Linked DNA regions of Homo sapiens: region 2 is linked to region 1. Evidence: promoter capture Hi-C in human tissues and cell types (Jung and others, 2019). All regions are on one chromosome and are shown on one strand. Each heading gives the region's core, a stretch centred on a gene start or on the middle of the fragment in contact. The rest is flanking DNA. Distances are from core to core; before and after follow the strand shown. Region 1 holds the start of NOTCH3 (notch receptor 3). Region 2 overlaps AKAP8L (A-kinase anchoring protein 8 like).

Region 1 (3,121 bases), core at 328-2,827:
TGGGTTGGCTGTGTCTGTCCATCTGCATGTGTGAGCTGGGTGTAAGCATGTCCTTGAGTCTTCATCTATGTGCTGTCTGAGTGTGTGCAGGCAGCGTGTGTGCCACACCTGTGTGATCATATTTGTGTGTGTATGTATGTCAATGTGTGAGCTGTGTGCGTGCAGCTGGGTGTGTCTTTCCTGAGCCAGGTGTGCAAGTCTGCGAGTGTGCTGTGTGTGTGCAGGTTTGCATCTCTGTTACGTGACCTAGAGCTATGTGTGCCAGCGAGTGTGTCACAGGCCATGTGTGTGCGCCGCTGGTCCGGCGGAGGCGGCGGCTCCTGCCTGGTCCTGCCCCGTCCGGGCCCCGGGGCTGGGCTGGGGAGGCCGTTCACTCCCGAAACCCCCACCCCGCCCAGCGCCAAGCCCCACACTGGCGTCTGGGACCCCTGGCCAGGGGCCTTGGCCCGCGCCCCTCCCCCGCCCACCAGGCCTCCCGTAGCGGTGAGGGGGGTGCCCCCGCAGCCCCCTCCCCGGCCCAGCCGCGGGTCCCGCTTTGTCTGGCAAAGAAAGCGCGAGGCCGGCCGGAGGGAGGGGGTGTCTAGACGGCGCGGCCATTGTCCCGAGCGGGGGAGGGGAGGGAGGAGAGGAGGAGGGGCGGGGGCCCCTGGCCGGCTGGGGAGGGGCTCTGGCCGCGGGGAGGGGGCGCTGGAGCCGAAGGGGAGCACGTGGGCCCTCGCCCCTTCCCCTCCCCGCGCAGGGGCGGGGTCCCAGGGCCTCCGGGTCCCCGCGGCCAGAGGAGAGAGGCGGGCTGCGGGCGGGGGAGGGGGCGCGCGCGCCGCCGAGGCTCCGGCTCGGAATCCGGCTCCGGGTCTTGCTGCGCGCCGGCCTGGGAAGTTTTCTCCGAGTTCAGAGCTCCCAGAACTTCGCGCCCCCTCCCCACCCCCCGCCTGGCCCAGCCCGCCCGGGGTGTCGGGGGCGGGGTGGGGGGGCTTTTGTGCGAGAGGTCCCCGGCCTAGAAGTACCTGGGCCCCCAATCATAACCTACCCAGGACTCCAGGCGTGAGTTGGATGGGGACGAGTCCCGAACTCTGTACGCACCCCCCCACCTCGAGTCCCTGATCCCCGCACCTCGAGCTCCCAGTCTCGGACTCCTGGGTCCCTTCATCTTCAGCTCTAATCGCTCAAGGGTCCCTGTTCCTTGGGCCTCTGGGGTCCTCCCCATTCTGAATCTCTGGGTCCTCCAGGACTGGCATGAAGCCCGGGGCTCCTGCGCCCCTTCCCCGACCCTGGTTCCTGCCTCCCATGAACCCCCGCCAGCCCCGGCCTTGGGGGTTCTTGCACTCCCCCTCTGCCGCCCTCGTCCCATCCGCCAGGTCCCGGCCCCTCACCTGCAGCCCCCGGCCCCGCTAGCAGCAGCAGCAGGGGCAGCGCCCGCACGGGTGGCGGTGGCGGTGGCGGCGACATCGGGCGACGGCGGCGGCGGCGGCCACGGGCCCCCGGCCCCATGGCGGCCGGCCGCGACCCTCCCCTCCTCCCTCCTTCCCTGGGCTCCGGGCGCGTCCCGGGCCAGCCTCCGCGCCGCCAACTTCGCCGAAGTGAGGCGGCCGGGCCGCCCCGCCCCCAGCCCTCGAAGGCTCGCCCCGCCCCGGGGCCGGCCCAGCGCGCCCCCGCCCCCCGCCCGGCCTCCCGGGGTCCCTGCCCACCCTCCACCCGCACAGCCTGGGACGCGCGGACCCTCGGAAACCCAGGCCGAGCATGCAGTGAGACGCGGGCAGAACCCGGAGTGGCGGGCACACCCAACCTCGTGAACGCCCACGCACCCCATCCCCATCCCCCAGTACACACCCAGAGCCGGACACCTCTGGAGCCGGGACAAAAAACACAGCCTCCCAGAAACTCTGGAAACTGAGGCCAGTCACGTCCTGAGAGGCTCATGGACCCACAGCCACGGACGCACAAATGCAAGCCCATGCACCAAGCTTCCCCAGGACTCTGATCTAAAACATTCACAAACCTAAAAGTCGGACCGGGCGCGGTGGCTCCGGCCTGTAATCCCAGCACTTTGAGAGGCAGAGGTGGATGGATCACTTGAGGTCAAGAGTTGGAGACCAGCCTGGCCAACATGGTGAAACCCGGACTCTACTGAAAATACAAAAATTAGCTGAGCGTGGTGGCGCACGCCTGTAGTCCCAGCTATTCGAGAGGCTGAAGCAGGAAAATCGCTTCAACCCAGGAGGCTGAGGTTGCACTTAGCCGAAATCGTACCACTGCGCTCCAGCCTGGGCAACAGAGTAAGACCCTGTCTCAAACAAAACAAACAAACAAAAAACCGCTAAAACTCACTCAGCCAGGCCAGGAGCCTAGGACTACATTTGCAGCCTCAGACCTCAGACACGTACTAGGAGTCACATGCATGTGTGTGTGTTCACACATGCACACACAAACTCTTCTTGCTCTCAGCCCTCCCAGAAAGCAACCCACTTCCTCTGTGACTCTCAAAGGGTCACCCCAGCCCCCTAGTCCCACCCCCATACCCCACACAGCTTTGGGCCTCAGCCTATCTGGCTCAATTTGATTAATTCTCTTTTCTTTTTTTTTTTTTTTTTGAGACAGCGTGTCGCTCTGTCACCCAGGCTGGAGTGCAGTGTCCCTATCTTGGCTCACTGCAAGCTCTACCTCCCAGGTTCAAGCGATTCTCCTTCCTCAGCCCCCACCCCCACAATCTGCCAAGTAGCTGGGATTAGAGGTGTGCGCCACCATACGTGGCTAATTTTTTCTGGGTTTTTGTTTACTTGTTTGTTTGTTTTTGAGACGGAGTCTCGCTCTGTTGCCCAGGCTGAAGTGCAGTGGCATGATCTCCGCTCACTGCAAGTTCCGCCTCCTGGGTTCACACCATTCTCCTGCCTCAGCCGTCCGAGTAGCTGGGACTACAGGCAACTGGCACCATGCTCTGCTAATTTTTTTTTTGTATTTTTAGTAGAGACGGGGTTTCACCGTGTCAGCCAGGATGGTCTCGATCTCCTGACCTCGTGATCTGCCTGCCTCAGCCTCCCAAAGTGTTGGGATTACAGGCGTGAGCCACCGCGCCCAGCTTCTATTTTTTTAGTAGAGACTGGGTTTTGCCATGTTGGCCAGGCTG
Region 2 (2,838 bases), core at 27-2,526, 190 kb after region 1:
GTCTCACTATGTTGCCCATGCTGGTCTCAAACTCTTGGACTGAAGCAATCCTCCCACCTTCACCTCCTAAAGTGTTTGGATTACAGGTATGAGCTATAATGCCTAGCCATAGCTGAAATATTATTAAAATTATGAAATATTAAAAACAAATAGTTCAGTGAGGTTGTAGGGTATAATATCAATATATTGGCTGAGCACAGTGGCTCATGCCTATAATCCCAGCACTTTGGGAAGCTGAGGCAGGAGGACTGCTTGAGCCCAGGAGTTTGAGACCAGCCTGGGCAACATGGTGAAACCCTGTCTCTACAAAAAATACAAAAATTAGCTGGGCATAGTGGCACATGCCTGTAGTCCCAGCTACTTGGGAGGCTGAGGTGGGAGGATTACCTGAGCCCAGGAGGTTGGAGGCTGTAGTGAGTCATGATGGTGCCACTGCACTCCAGCCTAGGCAACAGAGTGAGACCCTATTTCAAGAATAAAAAAAAAAAGTATTTTTATACACATGCAAAAAAAATCCAAAAATATCAAGAAAACAATTCCATTCATAATAGTAACAGAAAGAATAAAATACTTATAAATAATCTTAACAGGCCGGGCCTGGTGGCTCATGCCTGTAATCCCAGCACTTTGGGAGGCTGAGGTGGGTGGATCCCCCAAGGTCAGGAGTTCAAGACCAGCCTCGCCAACATGGTGAAACCCTGTCTACCAAAAATACAAAAAATTAGCTGGGCGTGGTGGTGCGTGCCTGTAATCCCAGCTACTCAGGAGGCTGAGACAGGAGAATTGCCTGAACCCAGGAGGCGGAGGTTGCAGTGAGCCAAGATGGCACCACTGCATTCCAGCCTGGGCAACAAGAGCAAAACTCTGTCTCAAAAAAAAAAAAATCTTAACAATAAAGAACAAAGCTTACACCCTGAAAACTACAAAACCTTTGAAAGAAATTAATTCATTTACTAGATCTCAGTAAATGAAAAGACATCCCATATTCATGGATTAGAAGACTTAATAGCTATGGTCAACTGACTTTCAACAAAGATGCCAAGATCATTCAATGGGGGGAAAACAGTCTCTTTCATTTCTTTTTCAAATGGTGCCGGAACAACTTAATATCTAGATGCAAAAAATAAAGTTAGAACCTTACCTCATACGATATAAATAAATTAACTCAAATGGAACAAAGACCTAACTGCAAAAGCTAAAACCATAAAATTCTTAGAAGAAAACACAGGGGTAAATCTTCGTGACCTTGGATTTATCAATAGATTCTTAGTTATGACACCCAAAGCATAAGCAATAAAAGAAAATTGGACTTTATAAAAATTAAAACTATTGTGCTACAAAGGACACATCAAGAAGGTGAAAAAACCCACAGAATGGGTGAAAATATTTGTAACTCATATCAAATATGGGACTTTACAAAAAGAACTCTACAAAAGACAACACAATTAAAAAATGCACAAAGAACTTGAATAGACATTTCTCCAAAGATACAAAAATGGCCAACCAGCCCATGAAAAGATGCCATTAGTCAGTTATCAGGGCTACGCAAATCAAAACCACAATGAGATACTACTTCCCACCCACTAGGATGACTAGATCAAAAAGTCAGAAAATGCCGGGCGCGGTGGCTCATGCCTGTAATCCCACCACTTTAGGAGGCCAAGACAGGGGGATCACCTGAGGTCGGGAGTTCGCGATCAGACTGACCAACATGGAGAAACCCCGTCTCTACTAAAAATACAAAATTAGCCAGGCGTGGTGGCACATGCCTGTAATCCCAGCTAGGAGAATTGCTTGGACCCGGGAGGCAGAGGTTGTGGTGAGCCGAGATCGCGCCATTGCACTCCAGCCTGGGCAAGAAGAGCGAATCTCTGTCTCAAAAAAAAAAAAAAAAAAAAGTCAGAAACTAAGTGTTGGTGAGTATGTGAAGAAATCAGGACCCTTATATGTTGCTGGTGGAAATGTAAAATGGTGCACAGTCACTTTGGAAAATAGTCTCACAAGTTAAAGTGTTATTATTTGATCAAGACATTCCAGTCCTAGTCATATACTCAAGAAAAATGAAAACATATGTCCACATAAAAACTTGCACAATAATGTTTCTAAGAGCATTATTCATAATAGCCAAAAGGTGAAAACAACCCAAACACCCAAAAAGATAAATAAACAAAATGTGCCACATCTATCTACACAATGGAATAATATGAAGCCATATGAAGGAATGAAGTTCTGATACATGCTACAATGTGGCTGGACCCCAAAAACATCATGCTTAGTGAAAGAAGCCAATCACAGAAGACCACATATTATGTGATTCTGTTTATATGAAGTGTCTAGAATAAGCAAATAGAGAGAGATAGATTAGTAGCTGCCTAAGGCTGGAGGAGGACAAGAGGTTGGGGGGGCTGATAGCTAAAGGGTTTCTTTTTAAGGTGATGAAAATATTCTGTAATCGACTGGTTGATGACTGCAGAATTCTGTGAATACGTGAAAAACCAATGAATTGGTTTTTTTTTTCATTTGTTTGGTTTTTTTAGAGACAGGGTCTTGCTCTGTTGCCCAGTCTGGACTGTGGTGGTGCAATCATAACTTACTGTAACCTTGAACTCCTAGCCTCAAGCGATCCTCCCACCTTGGCTTCCCAAAGTGCTGGGATTGCAGGCATGAGCCACCACGCCCAGCCCAAAGACTACTGAATTGTATACTTTAAATGCGTGAATTGTACAGTATGTGATTCTATCTCAGTAAAGCTGTTACCAAAGATAACAATAATTAGAAGCTTTCCATTAATCTCTACAGTCTAGAATTCTAAAAAATACAGTATTTAGACTGTATTCA

Evidence for each region. Contacts are between HindIII fragments. The study calls those that stand out against the background at their distance.
Region 2: a fragment that was not itself captured here is called in contact with the fragment with the promoter of NOTCH3 in region 1 in 1 of the 25 tissues and cell types used here (IMR-90 fibroblasts).

The regions. Positions count from the first base shown.
Region 1 is chr19:15,199,418-15,202,538 of GRCh38, forward strand. It overlaps NOTCH3 (notch receptor 3), which reads right to left and starts at 1,578. Exons shown (of 33, transcript NM_000435.3): 1 at 1,371-1,578. The coding sequence starts at 1,488. RefSeq lists a silencer at 648-874 and enhancers at 1,461-1,962, 1,963-2,462. The HindIII fragment of the contact is 7,500 bases long and covers 1-3,121 here.
Region 2 is chr19:15,392,026-15,394,863 of GRCh38, forward strand. The region is part of intron 12 of AKAP8L (A-kinase anchoring protein 8 like); the gene reads right to left. Among named protein-coding and RNA genes, the nearest start is that of AKAP8, 14 kb to the left of the region's middle. The HindIII fragment of the contact is 4,231 bases long and covers 1-2,838 here.